4 separate regions of the Homo sapiens genome follow, and regions 2, 3 and 4 are each linked to region 1. The links are contacts of gene promoters, found by promoter capture Hi-C in blood cells and fetal thymus (Javierre and others, 2016). All regions are on one chromosome and are shown on one strand. Each heading gives the region's core, a stretch centred on a gene start or on the middle of the fragment in contact. The rest is flanking DNA. Distances are from core to core; before and after follow the strand shown. Region 1 holds the start of H2AZ2 (H2A.Z variant histone 2). Region 2 overlaps TBRG4 (transforming growth factor beta regulator 4). Region 3 overlaps OGDH (oxoglutarate dehydrogenase). Region 4 overlaps OGDH (oxoglutarate dehydrogenase).

Region 1 (5,132 bases), core at 1,783-4,282:
CGCAATCTTAGCTCACTGCAGCCTCCGCTTCCCAGGCTCTCCTGGGCCCAGGTGATTTTCCTGCGTCAGCCTCCTGAGTAGCTGGGAATAACAGGCATGCGCCACCACGCCTGGCTAATTTTTGCATTTTTAGTAGAGACAGGGTTTTGCCATGTTGGCCAGGCTGGTCTCGAACTCCTGACCTCAGATGATCCACCCACCTTGGCCTCCCAAATTGCTGGGATTACAGGAGTGAGCCACCACGCCCAGCCTGCATGCTCTTTGTGGACCACCCACACCAGCTAAACTACATTCCCTGTTTCTCTCTTAAAGCACCCTGTTCTTTTCCTTCAGCACACTTGAACTTATTATAATTCACATATGGTATTTGTTTATTTCTTTAACATCTGACTCCCGCTGCAGAGGACCACAAGGGCAAGGACAATGTCTATTTTGCTAATCACCAAATCCTCAGTACCTAGCACAGTGCCTGCAAACAGTAGGCACTGAGTGATTTGTTAAAGGAATAACTCACAGGCTTATGCCTTGGTAGATTGGTAATGCCATCCACTGAGGCCAGAAACACAGAGGAGCAGGAATTAACAATGGCTATTTTTACTGAAGTAACTCCACTCTTCTACCTAGTTTTGAGGCTTCTATTAATCTGGGCACATTGCTCCATTCCTTCCTATTTCACTGGACACCCTTCCTCACACTTGTCTGTACCTTCATCCGTATTTTTCCAAATTCTTACTTAGAAGCTCACCCTCTTCCTCTTCTTGAATTTAAGTTACCTTTTTTTAAAGACTCACTTCCCCAAAGTTGCTTCTCCTGATTCAAACTTTGGAACAGCTATCATCAGCCTGGATATAAATTTCTAAAGTGCCAGCCTGGGAAAATCCTATGACAACAGAATCTCCACTAAGGCAGAAACTTGTTTTTTTCACTATTAACTCACCAACACCAAGAACACATTCTAGCACAGTCAATGCATCATACTGTGAAAAGAATGAAAGAATTTAAAGCTGGAATGAGTTGGAACAAATGTGAGCTGGTATCTTGGTTATCTACAGGCTATGCGGTCTCAGGCAAATGACTAAGTTCACCTAAGCCCATTTCTTCAGTTATGAAATGAAGCTGGCTCTCCCAGAAAGCTCATATTGTCCAGACTGTAATAGAGATGATCATGATAGGGTGATGGGCCTTTTTTAATTGTGGAAACAGGCCAGGCGCGGTGGCTCACGCCTGTAATCCCAGCACTTTAGGAGGCTGAGGCGAGAGGATCACTTGAGGTCAGGAGTTCAAGACCAGCCTGGCCAACATGGTGAAACCCTATTTCTACTAAAAATACAAAAACTAGCGGGGAATGGTGGTGGGAGCCTTTAGTCCCAGCTACCCAGGAGGCTGAGGCAGGAGAATCGCTTGAACTCAGGAGGCGGAGGTTGCAGTGAGCCCAGATCACACCACTGCACTCCATCCAGCCTGGGCAACAGAGTGAGACTTCATCTCAAAAAGTAAATAAATAAATAAATTGTGTTAACACTGTGGAAGAAAAACGATCGCTGGAGAGCCTGTGCACTCACATACATCCTTTAATTTTTACAACAGCTTCCGGGGGAAGGCGATTCCACTTTAGAGCTTTTCTTCCTTTCTAGCTGGGAGTTATCCTCCAAATTTTAACCTAATGATGTAAGCAAAATAAACACACTGAAGAGGTTGAGAAAAGAAAAACGGCTCACAACAGTCTGAGCTCTGTGAGGTCTGCAAAATGTATTAGGCCTAGAGGGACATGAGTATGGGACTTCGGTTATGCCCACCCTCTGCCCCCACATACACACATACCCAATCCCATGCATACCCAATTGTTTAAAGTCATTTCATTCCTGACTATCGGCCTCATCCATTACCTTTTTTTTTATTATTATTTTTTAGACAGGGTATATTCTGTCTCCCAAGCTGGAGTGCAGTGGTGCGATCATGACTCACTGCAGCCTCGACCTCCTGGGCTCAAGAGATCCTCCTGTCTCAGTCTTGACAGTAGGTGAGGCTACAGGTTCGCGCCACCAAGCCGGCCCCATTATCTTCGTGTTCTTAGAATTTGTAATACATGCCGGGCGCGGTGGCTCACGCCTGTAATCCCAGTACTTTGGGAGGCAAAGGGGGGCAGATCACCTGAGGTCAGGAGTTCGAGACCAGCCTGACCAACACGGAGAAACCCCGTCTCTATTAAAAATACAAAAGTTAGCTGGGCATTGGGGCGCGCGCCTGTAGTCCCAGGACTCCATCTCTAAAAAAGGAAAAAGAATTTGTCATACAAATAACAATATGTAGCCAATTGATAGCTTTTGTTTTTGTTTGTTTGTTTTGAGACGATGCGTCGCCCAGCTGGAGTGCAGTGGCGCGATCTCGGCTCACTGCAACCTCCGCCTCCGGGGTTCAAGCGATTCTCCCGCCTCAGCCTGCCGCGGACCTTGTCAGGGTCCGCGCTGAGAGGACGTCAGGGTAGTCAGTCCGCCAGAATACGGCTGAGCATGAGGCCTGCCTAACCTTGAAACCCAGCGCCCTCCTGATCCACACGTTCTAAGACGAATAAATCCTCACAGTCTGTGAAAACCCACCAGGAGAAGCACGTCCAACACTCTTTACCTCCCCAAACAAGTCTCAGAAGCGGGAAAACCAACGCCGCGAATGGGCGGGAAAGCCACAGCGCCTGCAATCGCTTCACCTTATTAGCTAATTTTGCTGTCCTTCCCAGTGGCCCGCCTCCCTTGCTCGCGGGCGATATTTTTATTGGCTTTCGTCTGCGAGGCGTCCAATCTCATTGGTTTGCCTTTCTGTTCGTCAGGCTTGGGCGCCTGGTGAAAGGCAGAGAGCGCGTCACTATTGGGGCTGGAGGCCCCGCCTCCGCGTGCCGTGTGCAAAAACAAACAGCCGTTAGGAAGGCGGTGCCGGGGGGGCGGGGTCTGGCTAGAAGGAGGCGCGCGATTGAACAGCCGCTGGGGTTCGAACCAGCAAGACAAGCGGGCATTGGCCACAGCAGCGCGAGGCGGGCACGGGGTATTGTCCGGCTCCGGCGGCGGCGGTCGGTGCTGCGAGAGCGGCGGCGGCGGCGCGGGTCGGCAGCGGGAGGGCGCGCGGCCGAGCGGAGGCGGAGTCGGCGCCGAGAACATGGTAAGGGCGGCCGGGTGGGCCGGGGGCACGGGGCCTGGGAGAGCAGAGCGCGGAGGCCCTGGCGTCGGCGCCGCTACCTGTGGAGTCGGGAGTTTGCGGGTGTCTGGGCTTCGTCCGGCCGAGCCCCTCGCCGCCCGCCGGGGGGCGCCATGTCCCAGCTGCGGAGCCCGACACGGGTCCCCGGGTGAGAGCTGGGCCTGGCCGGGTAGAGCGCGAAGTCTGTTCCGAGCCGGATAGATCTGTCCCGACGCTTGTGACGCTGCACCGCCCGTCTTAGAAGGAGGAGGACGGCAGAATCCGGCTTGGAAATGTAGAAACAAGTGCTGGATCTTAATGTGATCGCTTCTCTGTATGAATGAGGTCAAACAGGCTGCCGCTGTACAAGTTAGATAAGTCTTTGGCGATGTTTGGTTACGTAATCTCCCTGGCAGTCAGTTTGAGGGTTTCTGCGAAAGGGTGCTTGTATTTGTGGTCTTTTGAGCGACAAAGAATGGTTTTATAGACCAGAACCACACGATTTGTTCTAGGTGATTGCACAGGTTAGAAATGAACGCCCGTTATCTTCTGAGCCCCTTGCAGTTTGCGGTTTTCATTATACAACAGTACTTTCCTTTGCCCTTGCTATGGATTTTCAGTCTTAAAGTATTCATCTTTTCATTCTGAAATTCAGATCTAGATAAGAAGAGTGTGGCTTTAAAAAAATGAAAGTGAATAGAACTTCAGCCCCATTTTAAAGTTGAGGGGAAAAGAGAAGGTGCTAAAGGATACGCTCTGAGTTGCATCAAAGATTGTGTAAAAATAATAAGACTGTTATGGAATCTTATTTTTGCCGGTATTCGTGCTTTAAGCATTCTGTTGAAAGGTTACTTCAACGGGAGCTACCTGCTTAAAAGTTAGCACCAAGCTGTCATTTATCATACTGCAGATAGTATTAGATGATTTGTCTTGTGCTTGATGTGACAGATATGGTATTGAATAGACATAACACCTAACTGTAAACAGATTGGCCAGTCGAGAGGACAATGTTTGGTTATTGTAAAATACCCAAATCTTAGAGCTGGAATAGACTTTAGGGATAATTGCTTCCAACGTCTAACGTATAGTTTATTGTTATTGTAAAAAACCCAAATCTTAGAGCTGGAATAGACTTTAGGGATAATTGCTTCCAACGTCTCACGTATAGTTTATTGTTATTGTAAAGTACTTTATAGTACTTTATCAAACTGAGGTACAGCTTACATCTAATCTGTAAAAGGATTTGCTCAAACAGATGATTTTCATGATTCTAGTTTTTTGTGGTTTTTTTTTTTTTTGGTTTTTTGTTGTTTGTTTTTTGTGGTTTTTTGTGGTTTTTTTTTTTGAGACGGAGTCTCACTCTGTTGCCAGGCTGGAGTGCAATGGGCGATCTTCACTCACTGCAACCTCCGCCTCCCGGGTTCAAGCGATGCTCCTGCCTCAGCCTCCCGAATAGCTACAGGCGTGCGCCACCACGCCCTGCTAATTTTTTGTATTTTTAGTAGAGATTGGGTTTCACCATGTTGGCCAGGATGGTCTCGATCTCTTGACCTTGTGATCCGCCCCCCTCGGCCTGACAAAGTGCTGGGATTACAGGCGTGAGCCACCGCGCACGGCCAATTCTAGTTTTTCAGATATTTTTCAATCTCTAGTGATACGCTATATGTTTTATATCCACTTACCAGTAGCTAAAAATACATAAGTATTAACATAAGCTAAAAATGCAGGAGACATTGAGTTGTCGTTCTTGATAGATTTTAAACCTGAGAGGAAGTAAGCAGATGTCTGTTAAAACTGACATGAAAGTGTCTTAGTATCCAGTTTGCAAGTTTATCCAAGTAAAATGAACGAACTCCTACTTCCTCCTCTCTCTCTCTCTCTGTCTCTCTCTGTGTGTGTGTGTGTGTGTGTGTGTGTGTGTGTGTGTGTAATTTTTTAAAACCAACAACCTTAACTCAGGTTAATAC
Region 2 (5,132 bases), core at 1,537-4,036, 250 kb before region 1:
TTCTTGCGGTGGGAGTTCCCCAACTTCAACAGCCGAAGCAAGGACTTGCTGGGTCGCTTTGTTCTGGCCCGGCGACACATAGTGGCTGCAGGCTTCCTGATAGTGGACGTGAGTACCTCTTGGGCAGGTGGTCACTGCACAGGGAGAATCCCCAACCCACGCTAGAGAGGGGATCAGGTGGAACTGAGCCAGCAGGTATAGACACATGCCCTGCCCGTGGCCCCGGGCCTCTCCCAGGAGCCCAGGGAGGGAGTTTACTGTGGATCCTAGCTGCTCCAGCCTCCCCTCTAACCTTCCCAGCATCTCACCCCGTGGGTGAACCCAAAAAGGCAACCAAGCCTGCTTATTCAGCTTAAGAGGTGGGCAGGGTAGGGCCCATTCACAGATGAGCAGCTTGAAGCCCAAGAGGCTGCACAGCTGTTGGGGCTCTGAGTGCAGCTGCTCTGCCCCCTTGGTCAGCGCCTGTTGTCAGGAAAAGTAGGACCAGTGGAACTGGCAGGAGCAGAAAGATGCAGGTCTTGGGCCTGACTCTGGTTTCACACCTGGGAGACCTTGGTTAAGATCAAAGGTGGTCACCTTCCCTGGGAAGGGCCAGTGAATGAACATGTGGCTTCATGAGCCACACAAGGGTTCTGTTTGCTTCTTTGGGTTGTTGTGAGTTTTTTAACTGTTTAAAATTCAGAAGCCCTTCTTGGGCCTCCGAGTAGTTTGCAGACCCCTCCAGCACTGACAGTGCTAGCACCTCTCCCCGCCCGCACTGCCTGCAGTTCATGGGCTCTGCCTTGAAGACTTGGAGGCCAAGGGGCAGGTGTGCAGAGCTGTTGGTCAGCAGAGGTGTTGGGTGAGGGGTCAATGTGAGGACAGCAGGCAAGCAGGCAGAGCCACTGGCTGGAAGGGATCTCCTTGCCCATGTGACCTGTCTCCCCTGCCTCCTTCTAGGTCCCATTCTATGAGTGGCTGGAACTCAAGTCTGAATGGCAGAAAGGCGCCTACCTCAAGGACAAGATGCGCAAAGCGGTGGCTGAGGAGCTGGCCAAGTGACTTGTGCCAGCAGCATGGACTGCGTGCCTCTCCGCCGGAGGTCTAGCTGTGGGCGGCCAAGAAGGGTCACCCTTGAGGACAAACCTCTGTGCAGGACCTTGGCCAGAGTGGGGAGGGTGGCCAGCCACTCTGAGGGACAGAACGTCCTCTTGTGTATAATAAACCTTTAATTTTGGTGTTGGACCCCTGGGGCCTTCCCAGGCTTGGTCACCCTCTGCACTGTCAGCACTTGTCTGTCTGCTTTGTTGAGCAGGGCGTGGTTCTCCAGTCTGCCCTGTGCACTCCCCCGCCACGCCCAGCCCAAGAGGGCTGCTTTAGGGACAGACCTGGGTTGTTACCTGCCTGTCTCTCCCAGCTTCTTCCCTCCATGAGTGCTTATTCACATATGCCGGCCTCTTGCGTAGGGGTCTGTATCAGCCCCAGCAGGCAGGTGGAGTCCTAGAATTCTGAACCTCCAGAGCAGAGGAGCTTCCCAGGGAAGCTGATTGGAGATTCAGTGCATGGCTGGGGGTTCTGATGGAGCTGTGGCTACTGAACCACAGCCATCCTGGGAGGCTTTCTCCCATCAGTTGTCTCACACTTAGCTGAGTGAAAGGCACCCTGACAGCATGTGGTGACAGGTGATGTGAGGGCTGGGTGAGCACTTGGGAGGCGCTGGCTCTGGGAGAGGAGAAGATCCCACTTGGCTGACACCACGGCACCAAGAGCCAAACTCCATCGTTGTCTTCACCACCCTGACCAGAGCCTTGTGCTGTCATCTAGGAACTGGCTGCCCAAACAGGACCCTGGCAGCCTCCCTGCTGCTGCGGGGATTACCAGGTGCTGGGAGGCAACAAGCTTTCTACCTTCCAGCCTCTCCTTAGAGACACCTATTGGCAGAACCTGACTAAATAGCAGTCAGGGAACTGGGTTGCCTCCAGCCATACAGAACAGAGAGTAGGACAGTGGGGTGGAGCTGAGATGGAGAGGCCCACAGCCCTCAGCACTGTAGGCTCCCAACCCTAGGCTGTTTCCCCAAAAAGAAAAAGTCTAGTCACTGCTCTGATGCTTGGCCACTCACCCAAGCATTGGGGTAGTTTGTGCTGGCTTCACTGGGCACCATCAGGCACACCCAGCCTGTAGTTTTTGTTTTATATTACCTAAGTCGGCCAGGTGTGGTGGGATCACGCCTGTAATCCCAGCACTTAGGGAGGCTGGGGCGGGCGAATCGCCTGAGGCCAGGAATTCAAGACCAACCTGGCCAACATTGTGAAACCCTGTCTCTACTAAAAATATAAAAATTAGTCGGGCATGATGACAGGCACCTGTAATCCCAGCTACTCAGGAGGCTGAGGCAGGTGAATCACTTGAACCCGGGAGGTGGAGGCTGCAGTGAGTTAAGATTGTGCCACTGCACTCCAGCCTGGGTAACAGAGCAAGACTCTGTCTCAAAAAATATATATGTGTGTGTGTGTGTGTGTATATATATGTACATGTGTATATAAGTATATATGTGTGTATATATGTATATATACACGTATATACACACACACCCCTAAGTCATGATTTTGGAGCAATTGTAAGTGGTGTAGTGCTTAATTTTGGCATTCACACATTGATTGTTAGCATATAGAAATGGGATTGATTTTTATGTGATCTTGCTAAACTTTATGCATTTTTAAAATTCCTTTGGATTTCCTATGTAGATATTTATGTCCTGAAAACAGGAATGTATTTATCCTTTCAAATCAATATGCTTTTTATTTTGTTATTTATGACCACTTCATTAAAATATAATTCACATGCCATACACTTCACCCATTTAAAATGTATAATTAGGCCAGGTGTGGTGGCTCACGTCTGTAATCCCAGCAGTTTGGGAGGCCAAGGCCCTCAGATCTTGAGCCCAGGAGTTCAAGACCACCCTGGGCAACAGGCAAAACCCTGTCTCTATTTTTTAAAATACAAGAATTAGCCGCAGTGGCACGCACCTGTCGTCCCAGCAACCCAGGAGGCTGAGGTAGGAGGATCACTTAAGCCTGGGAAGTCAAGCCTGCAGTGAACCATGATAGCACCACTGCAGTCCAGCCTGGGCGACAGAGTGAGACCCCATCTCGAAAACAAAAATGTATAATTCAGTGGTTTTTAGTCTCTTTGCAGATACATGCAACCATCACCACAATTTGCACATTTTCTAAGCCTCATATACTGATGTGATATTTTGGTGTTTTGTGACTGGCTTCATTTACTTAGCATATTGTTTTCATGTTTCATTCATGTCGCATGTATGAGTATTCATTCCTTTATTTGGCTGAATAATATTCCATTATAGTTTGTGCCACATTTTGTTTATCCATTCATCCATTGATGGACATGTGGATTGTTTCCACCTTCTGGATAATATGAACTGATACAGTTTGGATATTTTGTCCCCTCCAAATCTCATGAAATAGGATCACCAGTGTTGGAGAATGGGGCCTGTTAGGAAGTGTTTGGATCATAGGAACATCTGTCATAAATGGCTTGGTGCCATCCTTGTAATGAGTGAGTTCTTGCTCTATATTAGTTCACTTGAAAGCTGGTTGTTGGGAACTCCTGCCCTATCTGTTCTGCCCTCTCTCGTCATGTGACATGCCTGCTCCTTGTTCACCTTCTGTCATGAGTAAAAGCTTCCTAAGGCCTTCCCAGGAGCCAAGCAGATGTCAGTACCATGCTTGTACAGCCTGCAGAACTGTGAGCCAAATAAACTTCTTTATAAATTACCATCTCAGATATTCTTCTATAGCAATGCAAAATGGACTAATACATGAATAATGCTGCTATAAATATTCCTGTACAAGTTTGAGTATAAATGTATGTTTTCATTTTTCTCTTGGTTATATACCTAGGAGTGGAATTGCTGGGTCTATGGTAACTATGTTTAGTCGTTTAAGGAACTGCTAGACTGTTTTACATTCCCACCAGCAGTGTGTAAGGTTTCAGATCTCTCTACATCCTCAATGACACTTGTAATTTGAGTTTTATTTTAGCCATGTGAGTGCGTATAAAGTGATTTCTCATTGTGGTTTTTGTTATTTCCCTAATAACTAATGGTTTTCAGCATTTTTCATTTACTTATTTGGCCATTTGCATGTCTTTTGGAAGAATATCTTTTTTAAGATTCAGGGAGTGGCCGGGCACGGGGGCTCACACCTGTAATCCCAGCACTTTGGGAGGCCAAGGTGGGCGGGTCATGAGGTCAGGAGATTGAGACCATCCTGGCCAACACAGTGAAACACCATCTCTACTAAAAATACAAAAAAATTGGCCGGGCGTGGTGGCAGGTGCCCGTAGTCCCAACTGCTTGGGAGGCTGAGGCAGGAGAATGGCATGAACCTGGGAGGTGGAGCTTGCAGTGAGCTGAGATCGTGCCACTGCACTCCAGCCTGGGCAACAGAAGCAGACTGTCTCAAAAAAAAAAAAAAAAAAAAAATAGATTTAGGGAGTACACTAGGTGCAGGTTTGTTACATGGGTATACTATATCATGCTGAGGTTTGGGCTTCTAATGAACCCATTACCCACGTAATGAACATAGTACCCAGTGGTAGTTTTTCAACCCTTGTCTCCCACCCTCCCCACATTTGGAGTCTCCAGTGTCTATTATTTCCATCTTTATGTCCATGTGTACCCCTCCATTGTTTAGCTCTCATTTATAAGTGAGAACATGCGATATTTGATTTTCAGTTTCTCAGTTATTTCACAAGATAATGGCCTCTAGCTCCATTCATCTTGCTGCAAAGGTGTGTGTGTATGTGTGTGCACTGGGTAATTTATAAGAAAAGAGGTTTAATTGGCATGGGGTTCTGCAAGCTGTACACGAAGCATAGTGGGATCTGTTTCTGGGGAGGCCTCAGGAGGCTCCCCATCGTGGTAGGAAGGCAAAGGGGGAACAGGCATGTCACATGGTGAAGCAGGAGCAAGAGAGAGAGTGTGTAGAGTGGGGAGATGCCACACACTTTTAAATGACCAAATCTTGGTCGGGCGCGGTGGCTTATGCCTGTAATCCCAGCACTTTGGGAGGCCGAGGCGGGCGGATCACGAGGTCAGGAGATCAAGACCATCCTGGCCAACA
Region 3 (5,132 bases), core at 1,257-3,756, 220 kb after region 1:
TGACAGAGCGAAAGTCCATCTCAAAACAACAATAACAACAACAACAAAAAACATCCACCAGGCTCAGTGGCTCACGCCTGTAATCCCACCACTTTAGGAGGCAAGGCAGGAGGATGGCTTGAAGCCAGGAGTTTGAGACCAGCCTGGGCAAAAAAACAAGACCCTGTCTCTATAAAAAATATAAAATATTAGTCAGGCATGGTGGTGTGCACCTGTACTCCCAGCTACTCAGGAAGCTGAGGCGTGGGGGAGTGGCGGGGGAGTGGATTACTTGAGCCCAGAAGTTTGAGGCTACTATCATGGTGCCACTGCACTCCAGTATGGGTAATGGAGACCCTGTCTCAAAAAGAAGAGCTCCAAAAGATGCAGTGATCCTCATTTAGAGTAAGCCTCTCTCCTCCCACCAGCCTCAGTGACCTCGTATGCCTGCTGTCCTGGCCTCAGTCCCTCCTGCTCTTGGGGATCCCAACTCCTCCTGCACCACATCCTCAAACTTGCTCTCCTTCTACCTGCTGAGGGGTCCATGCTCCCACAGCACATAACAAAATCAACAAACACCTCTTGGTTTGATCTTGGAACCTCTCCATTTACTTCATAATCCAAATTTTTGGTTTTTTCTTGCTGCGTCTGGCTCCTGGCCCTGAAGCCTGCATCCATCATCCTGCTGAGTGACCGTGAGCCCCTGTTGGGCTCCTTCACAGCACAGCATAATGCACTTCCTTTCAGAAGCTCAGTGGGTTCTATTAGAATTCCAAATGTTTTTATTTATTTATTTTTCTTTTTAAGGGCCGGGAGAGAGAGGAGAGAGAAAGGAAAGAGGGAAGGGGGTGGAGAGGGGGAGAGAGAGAGAGAAAAGAGAGCTAGAATTTTAACTGTTGTTTAAACTTATTTAATCATCCTGCTAGGATAACAGGGCAAGACTGCTTTTCCTCTTGCAGCCGCCACTCAGCACAAGCTTCGAACACAGCTGTCATGAGCTGCAAACTACCACACAAGTGAGGGTGTTGCTTCATGTTTCCTGTTGTTTCAAAGAGGTTATAATTTTATCACCCTAAATAAACCATAAATGCAAACTGCTTAAGAGTGAAATACTGTGCTAAAGTTGGAGAAGGCGCACTCAGTCAGTTTAGCTGATTTAACACAAAAAGCCACAAGTGCTGAGATTGCTCTTAACATGTGAAGTTAAAGATTATCAAGTGGCGGTGGGGGAGGGTGGTAGGAGAGTGAGGGTTGAAAAATTGCCTATTGGGTACAATGTTCATTATCTGGGTGATGGGTACACTAGAAACCCAATTCCCACCATTACTTAACGTACCCATGTTACAAACCCACACATGTACCTCCTGAATCTTCAAAAACAAAAAATCATCAAGGGGTAACTTCAAAGCTCATCGCTGAAACCCCATTTACGTAGACCATGCAGTTTATGTATACAGTCAGCCCTCCGTATCTGTGGGTTCTGCATCCATGGATTCAACCAAACGTGGATTGAAAATAGTTGGTAAAAAACTGCCTGTACTGAACATGTACACTTTTTTTTCCTGTTATTATTCTCTAAACCAGGGATCCCCAACCCCCGGGCCACAGACCAGTACTGGTCAGTGGCCTGTTTGGAACTGGGTTGCATAGCAGGAAGTGAGCGGCAAGCGAGCATTACCACCTGAGCTCCACCTCCTGTCACATCAGCGGGGGCATTAGATTCTCATGGGAGAGCCAACTGGATTGTGAGCTGTGCATGCAAGGGATCTAAGTTCACTCCTTATGAGAATCTAACTAATGCCTGATGTGAGGTGGAACAGTTTCACTGCAAAGCCATCCTCCCCTGATCCCTCAGTCCATGGAAAAATTGTCTTCCACGAAACTGGTCCCTGGTGCCAAAGGAGTTGGGGACTGCTGCCACAAACAATGAAGTATAACAACTATCTGCATAGCATTTACCTTGTATTAGGTATTACAAGTAATCTAGAGATGATTTAAAGTATATGGGAGAACGTGCATAGTTTATATTTCATTTTATACAAGGGACATGAGCTTCCTTGGATTTTAGTATCCTCAGTGTGCCCTGGAACCAATCCCCCACAGATACCAAGGAATGACTACATATATTTCTGATAAGTCATTCATAAATCAAACATAAAAGATTAAAATACTCAAAATGCATTCCAACCACCCAACTGGCATTGCCTAAAGTGCCTTGTGAATTATTCCCAGAAATAAATAACTTGAGTGGCACCAAAGTGTTCTGCAGATTTTTCAACACAGCTGTTCCTTGTCACGTGAACATATCAGATCTCCTTATGAGCACATCAGACTTCCATCAGACTTCCACATACCCACTGTGGGAAGCCCCTTCACCGCACATGCAGCGGCTAGGAGGGTAACTTGGAGCAGGGCTCCTGCCATGGGAGGAACCCCAGGCCAGGACACAACCATGGGTACCATAGTCCTATTTTTCAAAGTGAGGCCAAGGCAGTTTCAACACTGCAGAGTGAAAAGGCCCATAACACTGCATAATGGGACAGTTTGTGTATCTGTGCTTTTCCTCCACTTAGTTTCACCCATAGAAAACACCAGTACTGTGTTTCATAAGCACGAAAGGAGGAAGCAGAACGGTGTCGACAGATGAGCAGCGATGCCAGACTCAGCAGCAGGCCAACAGCCTGCACCTGTAATCTGAACGCATAGAGACCCTCCCTCCTGCAGCGACCACATGTACACACTTTAGGAGCTGACACGTGAAAAGTGCAAGAAGAAAAAACCATCAAGAAACAGGCATCAGGCCGGGCATGATGGCTCACGCCCATAATCCCAGAACTTTGGGAGGCCGAGGCGGTCGGATCACCTGAGGTCGGGAGTTCAAGACCAGCCTGGCCAACATGGTGAAACCCCGTCTTTATTAAAAATACAAAAATTAGCCAGGCGTGATGGGGCACGTCTGTAATCCCAGCTAGCTGGGAGACTGAGGTACGAGAATTGCTTGAACCCAGGAAGCGGAAGTTGCAGAGAGCCGAGACTGCGCCACTGCACTCCAGACTTGGTGACAGAGCGAGACTCGTCTCAAAAAAAAAAAAAAAAAAGAAAAGAAAAAGAAAAAGGAAAGAAAAGAAATGGGCATCAGTTAACAAGAACAGGGAGGCAGGCTTTAGGCAGGTGGGCAGGGCAGAGGAAAGCACAGAGCAGAGGAAGAGCCCTGAGGTACAAAGCAAGCTGTGAGAAAGCCAAATGGCCAGGAGGGCCTAGAAGAAAAGCAGGGCCAATGATGGCACCCTCAAGGCAGCTGCTGAAGGCACTGTTGGGAGAAGAACAACAGGCCCCAGCTCCTTCCACTCCCTCAGGACCTAATCCTGGCTCTTCCTCAGCAGGGCCAGAACCTGGCAGATGCATCACAAGGAACTCAACACCATGCTACAGCTGTAGGTGGGCACCTGTCCCTACAAAACAAAATGAGATCAACACCCAGACTCATGGGGGCTTAGCAGTTCTCAATTACCTGTTTGTCTTAAACATTAACAAGGATAACTTAGCTCTGACTGTGTCTTAAAGACATAAATAAAGATGTCATCATTTGATGTGACCTCAAATATGCTGAGACCCTAATGAGGAGGGTTTCATAGGCTGACAGCCCAGGCCACCGCTGAAGGCTCTTAAGAGGGGTCAGTGAGGAGCACAAATGCCAGACTAGAACAGAGACGAAAGTCTAGGACAGGACCAAAGGTAGGAACAAAAGGGAGATGGCAGATGGGCCCACCACAGAGACAGACCCAGGTCAGCTAGTTAACCGGATTCTGTTCTGGGGAGTGGACTTAGGGTAAAAAAGGTACTTGCAGCTCTGATTTGCTAAAATATTTTACCACAAATATAATTTTCACATCAGTTAAGCATTTTAAGAATAGAAGTTTTTTTTAAGAGGCTGGGTGTGGTGGCTCACATCTGTAATCCCAGCACTTTGGGAGGCCAAGCTGGGAGGATTGCTTGAGCCCAGGAGTTCAAGACCAGTCTGGACAACATAAAGAGACTCCATCTCTATTTACATTTTTTTATTTTTTTAAAAAGCTTTCTATTTTATTTTTAATAGAGACAAGGCCTTGCCTTGTCCAGGCTGGTCCCAAACTCCTGGACTCAAGCAATCCTCCTGCCTCAGCCTCCCAAAGTATCAGGATTACAGGCATGGCTCCTACTTACATTAAAAAAAAGTTTTTAATTAAAAAATAAATAAAATTAAAAATAAGGAATACAACGACCAATTATAAAGTGTAAAACCAAATGTAAAAAAAAGTAAAATAAAAATTAAAAAACAAAACAAAACAAAATGTAAAAGGGCAGCTTTAAGAGAAGAGTAAATATTTAAACATGGACTGAGAAAAAATTCTATTAGAGAATTAGCCTGTTAATTTTATTGGGTGTGGTTATGAAAACAATTACTTAACAGTTAGTTACACTGATGCATTTATGCCAGAAATGACACAGGTCTGGAATTTGCCTTAAAATACTCCAGTGTCTACTCTCCTCAAACCCCAAATAAACCAACAAATAAAAAAGTCACTGGGGTAGGGAATAGATTTTTAAGACAGCTGTTGAAGCTGCGTGACCAGTCTCCTCATTAGGCTTATCATCTACTCTTCTCTCTACTGTTATGTATGCTTGGAAACACTATAAAACACAGATTTAAAAATAACAATGGGGCTGGGTGCAGTGGCTCACGCCTGTAATCCCAGCACTTTGGGAGGCTGAGGTGGGCAGACTGATTGAGGTCAGGAGTTTGAGACCAGCCTGGCCAACATGGTGAAACCCCGTCTCTACTAAAAATACAAAAATTAGCCAGGCGTGGTGGCGCGTATCTGTAATCCTGGCTACTCGGGAGGCTGAGGCACGAGAATCACTTGAACCAGGAGGTGGAGGTTGCAGTGAGCTGAGATCACCTCACTGCACTGCAGCCTGGGTGACAGAGTGAGACTCCATCTCAAAAAAATAAATAAAATAAATAAAAATAAAAACAACAATGGGAAAGTAGTGCCAAAGGGCAGGAGAGGAAGATGCTGAGTTTGTTCCTTTTCTGCTATATGAGTTTAGTCCTTGCAGCCCCCCATAAGCTCTCTGAAAATAAGTACGGAATCCGACCTCAGGACATTTCT
Region 4 (5,132 bases), core at 1,931-4,430, 190 kb after region 1:
CTTAGAGAAGCCAGAGTGTAAAGAAGAGACTGGCCACCAGGGTGGATGACAACAGGCTGATGATCCCCCAGCATTTCGACTCTGGATTCCTCAAATGTGTTTTGCCCAACCGAGGGTCACTAAGAGTTCTCAGTAAGTTTTTATTAATACTTCAGTTGGCCTTCAAACATAAAACATTTTGGAAATCTTGCCCAAAATGCCCAGGAAGCAGAATCTGGAAGAATCCAGAGTCCAGTCAAAGCCTCAGCACAGAATGTGGAGGACAGGACAAGCCACCATGCAGAGCTGAACATGGCTTCATGTGCCCAGCTGGCTATGGCAGCAGCTAAAGGTGAATTATGCTGAAGATGGCAGCTCACAGTGAAGCGATGAAGCACACGTGAAGATGAAAAGTGCTCTTTGAAACACAAATGAACAGAAACAAAACGATACCATATAAGTAGCTCTACTTATTGGTTAATAATTAAAGGAAGGGAAAAACACATTTCAGAACAATTAACAAACTTAAAAACACGTGACAGAAGTTGCGTCAACTTTCCCCATATTGCATGCTAGGAAAAGTTGCACATCCTATTCAAATGAAGTCCTCAACTCTGAAAAGGTGAAAAGCTCATTATTTTCATACCTCCTACTGTTAGCATTCGAAGTCGTTCCTTGAAAACTGCAAGATCTGAGAGGCAGAGTGGGGTATCATGGGTGAGCGCAGAAGGAAAAAGACAGGTGAGAGTTAGTTTAAAAAAGACCCAAACACCAAAACCCTACACCATTACCACAGTAACAGGTAGCACAGACACCATCACAGGGACACACACACACATCAAGGGAGAAGTGGGTGGGTTACATGGTCAGGGGGTCAATTTTATTAAACATGGAAATGATTCATAGAACAGCTGGAATAAGGTGAATCAGAAGGAGGGGAGGTTAGCACCCTGACGATGGAAAGCCATCAGGCAGCGTCATTTGAGAGCTCCTCATCTCCTTAGCTTCAAGAAGTGGCGGATAACAGCACTTTCCTGGGAAGTCACTACTTTGAGATGAAAATTGAGGAAAAGAAAATGAAAAAGCCTAATTTTTAGAGCAGATATTTCTCAGCACTAGATTCAGGTGGCAGACTACTCTAAACCGTAAGATTTTGAAGAATTCTAAAGAATGGAAGGATTCCTTGATCTCCCATTTCAAGAAGGCAAACTAGGAAAGAAGTGCTTGCTAGCTGAAAACAACCCAAGAGCCACAGCTGCATCTCCACAGCTGTACACTTCCTTCTACCTGTAAACTTTTCATCGGATTTCTACTATACATAACAGCTTTCTGAGCCACTGGTGAAATCAAGGCATTTATTTGGATACACAAAACATGCTCCTGACCCTTACTGTCTGGGCTTGTGGGCCTGGGGGATGGGGTCAGGAAGGTAGGCAGTAACACAGGCACACAGAGAAGCTGATGGTTGAGCACTCAGAGTGCTGTCACTGGGTATGCTCCCTGTACTGGGAGTGCAGAGAAAGGCCAGCAAGTGCTTCCTTTGAAGTCAGACTCAGACCCCAAGAAACAGGCCTGCTTCCTAGGGCTGTGACAGGGGCTAGTCTCCAGTCCTGGGCAAGCCACACTGTCTCCTTCCCCCAGGGAACAACAACCACTGAAGAACTCAGAGCCAAGTGGCTCTTAAGACAACAGAATATCTAAATGTCGATATTTTGCTTAAGGCAAGGATGAAGAATCTTAAATTTTCTCCTTCAATCTTCAAAACCAAGACATGAGACCATGTCAAGATGCCATAAGTGAGGTGTATGTTAGCTACCCTGGAGACTCCAGGTAAGGATCTACACAGGGGAGGGCCTCGAAAGGAACCTTAAATACTCATACCCATTTTTAAAAATCTAAAGGCAATGTGGTAAAATGTTTACATTCTTAGTACTGAGTATGTGAATGCTCTTTTATCTGTACTTTTTTATATTTTTAAAATAAAAGGCAAACAAAAGACACAAACCAAAGAAGAGGAGAGTTAAGAGAACAATAGAAGATATTCTGGTTGTCACAATTTACAGAAAGCACACAGATTTTCCAACACCTGAGTGCTTTGAAGCATTGTAAATTACTTCTTGAAGAGTGCAGGTGCTGTGAGGGAGGAGAGAGGGAGCGGATGGAGATTTGGCCACAGTACTTCCAAGTGAAGCACAGAAGCAGGAATGTGACGCTGGGAACTAGGGGACTCGGTTTACCAGTTTCTGGGTATCTCCAGTCAAAGAATCTTCTCAAATGTCAGATGTCTGCTTGGCCAGCTTCATTCTCCTTGAGGGTGACCATATCGCCCATGGCTTCAACCACCCTGGTTATGTTCTTAGCTTGGCCCCGCCCTCCCGAGTCACTTAGGAAACCTCGTCTCCAGCTCCTCGGTTATCTGTGGCACACAGCACGCTGCACATAGCAATCAATGCTTACTAAATGAACTGCTCTATATCACTCTGAAATTACAAAAGCTAATTAAACGTCAACTCTATTTTTAGCTTATTTTTCTCAGCCATCAAAGGAACAAACCGGAGAGCCCTGGAAGGTCAGGAGGATATGTGGAAACTTTGTCATGACTCGCTGTGCTGTTAATGACAGCAGGTTGTCAGAGAAAGGCAAGAACTAAGTAGTTGACATTTTGCCACATTTTTCAACTTTTAAATTGACTTTTTAACTATTTAACTCACGTTCATTTCCTAAAATGGTATTAGCAATTTGTAAACATCAATGGTAAATGGGAGAGAAGTTTCACACTTTCTTCCCATTTATTTATACAATTGGTTTTTAATTCTCTTTTAATTATGTTTAAATCTCACATTAAAGTACATCTCACGGAGCGTGGTGGCTCATGCCTATAATCCCAGCACTTTGGGAGACCAAAGCAGGTGGATCACTTGAGCTCAGGAGTTTGAGACCAGGCTGGACAACATGGTGAAACACCGTCTCTACTAAAAATACAAAAATTAACCAGGCATAGTGGCACATGCTTGTAATCCCAGTTATGTGGGAGGCTGAAGCAGGAGGATTGCTTGAACCTGGGAGGCAGAGGTTGCAGTGAGCTGAGATCCTGCCACTGCACTCCAGCCTGGGCAACAGAGCGAGACTCCGTCTCAAAAAAAAATAAAATAAAATAAAAATAAAAAAAAACAAATTTAATTAGGCCAGGCACAGTGGCTCACGCCTGTAATCCCAGCACTTTGTGAGGCCTAGGCAGGTGGATTACATGAGGTCAGGAGTTCGAGACCAGCCTGGCCAACATGGTAAAACCCTGTCTCTACTAAAAATACAAAAATTAGCCTGGTGTGGTGGCGCATGCCTGTAGTCTCAGCTACTCAGGAGGCTAAGGCAGGAGAATTGGTTGAATCTGGAAGGAGAGGTTGCAGTGAGTCGAGATCGTGCCACTGCATTCCAGCCTGGGCTACAGAAAGAGACTGTCTCAAAAAACAAAACAACAACAAAAAACCCAGTAAAGTACATCTCAATCATTTTTGTCACTGTGAAAAGTTATACTCAGAATTTATACCGAAACCACAGACAGTGGCATTTTTAAGTGGGAAACTAATTCGAATGCTACACTTGAAAGATAAAATTGGGCCAGGCGCAGTGGCTCACCTCTGTAATCCCAACACTTTGGGAGTCCGAGACGGGCGACTCACTTGAGGCCAGGAGTTCAAGGCCAGCCTGACCAACACAGTGAAACCCCTTCTCTACTAAAAATACAAAAATTAGCCGGGCATGGTGGTGCACATCTGTAATCCTGGCTACTTGAGAGGCTGAGGCACGAGAATCACTTGAACCTGGAGGTGGAGGTTGCAGTGAGCTGACATTGCACCACTGCACTCCAGCCTGGGCGACAGAGTAAGACTCTGTCTCAAAAAACAAAAATAATAATTAAAAAAAACCAAACAACAGCAAGAAAAAACTGAGGGCAAGAATTTCTAATTAAGCAGGAGTTTCTAACTGTTTCTAATTAGGCAAATGAGTGGGCCTCACTGTCTAGACCTTTCCATTGATAATACTCTGGTTCTAGTGTTTTGCAATATACACCCATATCTACCGTGGTACCCCAACTGATGACCCTTCTTCAAGAGCCAGTGGAAAAAGACTCCCTAGGAGCCCTCCTACCAGAAGACGTTGGGCTGCCACTACCTCCCACTCTGACTGGATCCATTCAGGGATATTATAACATGAGGTTGGTGCCTCATTCTCCAGATCTGCAAATTTGCTGTCAAGGAACCTCACTATGGAATGTGAGTGAAGAGAAATGTGTATTTAATACATGTCAGCTGGGCGCGGTGGCTCACTGCTGTAATTCTAGCACTCTGAAAGGCCAAGGCAGGAGGGTTGCTTGAGCCCAGGAGTCTGAGACGAGCCTGGGCAACATAATAAGACCCTGTCTCTATTTTAAAAATAAAATAAAATAAAAAAATAAAGTATCTCATGTTGGAACTCTCAACCCTCTTTCCCCAGGGAAATGAGGTTTATAGTATAGCCTGGCACAAATTAAGATGGGCATCTGGAGATTTACCTGGAAACTGGCCCCTAACTTTAACACTTCATTAAAAAGTTATCTCTGGCCAGGTGCGGTAGCTCACACATGTAATCCCAGCACTTTGGGAGGCTGAGGCGAGGGCATCACCTGAGGTCAGGAGTTCAAGACCAGCCTGGCCAATATGGTGAAACCCGGTCTCTACTAAAAATACAAAAAATTAGCTGGGCATGGTGGTGGGTGCCTGTAATCCCAGCTACTTGGGAGGCTGAGGCAGGAGAATTGCTTGAACCCGGGAGGCGGAGATTGCAGTGAAATGAGGTCGTGCCATTGCACTCCAGCCTGGGCAACAAGAGCGAAACTCCATCTCAAAAAAAAAAAACTTATCTCTGTTCCAGCCATCACCTGGCACAATTACGGAACATAATTCACACATAATTGAGAAACTGTTCTAAAATTAATTTTAAAAATTGTTAATGAAAATAATCACTAGGCTGGGCACGGTGGCTCACTCCTGTAATCCCAGCACTTTGGGAGGCGGAGGCAGGTGGAGTGCTTGAGCTCAGAGGAGTTTGAGAACAGCCTGGGCAACGTGGTGAAACCCTGTCTCTACTTAAATTTTAGAAATTTAATTAGGCTG

The links. Contacts are between HindIII fragments. The CHiCAGO score rates a contact against its expected background, and 5 or more counts as called.
Region 2: a fragment that was not itself captured here is called in contact with the fragment with the promoter of H2AZ2 in region 1 in 1 of 17 cell types (naive CD8 T cells); the score reaches 6.6 in naive CD8 T cells.
Region 3: a fragment that was not itself captured here is called in contact with the fragment with the promoter of H2AZ2 in region 1 in 12 of 17 cell types (total CD8 T cells, monocytes, naive CD4 T cells and 9 more); the score reaches 11.2 in total CD8 T cells.
Region 4: a fragment that was not itself captured here is called in contact with the fragment with the promoter of H2AZ2 in region 1 in 6 of 17 cell types (total CD8 T cells, naive CD4 T cells, naive CD8 T cells and 3 more); the score reaches 7.6 in total CD8 T cells.

What each region holds. Positions count from the first base shown.
Region 1 is chr7:44,845,987-44,851,118 of GRCh38, reverse strand. H2AZ2 (H2A.Z variant histone 2) reads left to right here and starts at 3,032. Exons shown (of 5, transcript NM_012412.5): 1 at 3,032-3,150. The coding sequence starts at 3,148. H2AZ2-DT (H2AZ2 divergent transcript) reads right to left here and starts at 2,648. Exons shown (of 2, transcript NR_187581.1): 1 at 2,598-2,648; 2 at 1,554-1,660. RefSeq lists silencers at 2,697-2,756, 3,017-3,406 and enhancers at 2,333-2,891, 2,892-3,449. The HindIII fragment of the contact is 6,622 bases long and covers 1-5,132 here.
Region 2 is chr7:45,096,234-45,101,365 of GRCh38, reverse strand. It overlaps TBRG4 (transforming growth factor beta regulator 4), which reads left to right. Exons shown (of 11, transcript NM_004749.4): 10 at 1-108; 11 at 940-1,266. The coding sequence ends at 1,041. Among named protein-coding and RNA genes, the nearest start is that of SNORA5A, 5.7 kb to the left of the region's middle. The HindIII fragment of the contact is 1,811 bases long and covers 1,881-3,691 here.
Region 3 is chr7:44,627,526-44,632,657 of GRCh38, reverse strand. All of the region lies in intron 2 of OGDH (oxoglutarate dehydrogenase), which reads right to left. Among named protein-coding and RNA genes, the nearest start is that of OGDH, 23 kb to the right of the region's middle. RefSeq lists an enhancer at 2,801-2,850. The HindIII fragment of the contact is 3,098 bases long and covers 958-4,055 here.
Region 4 is chr7:44,651,856-44,656,987 of GRCh38, reverse strand. All of the region lies in intron 4 of OGDH (oxoglutarate dehydrogenase), which reads right to left. Among named protein-coding and RNA genes, the nearest start is that of OGDH, 48 kb to the right of the region's middle. The HindIII fragment of the contact is 7,641 bases long and covers 1-5,132 here.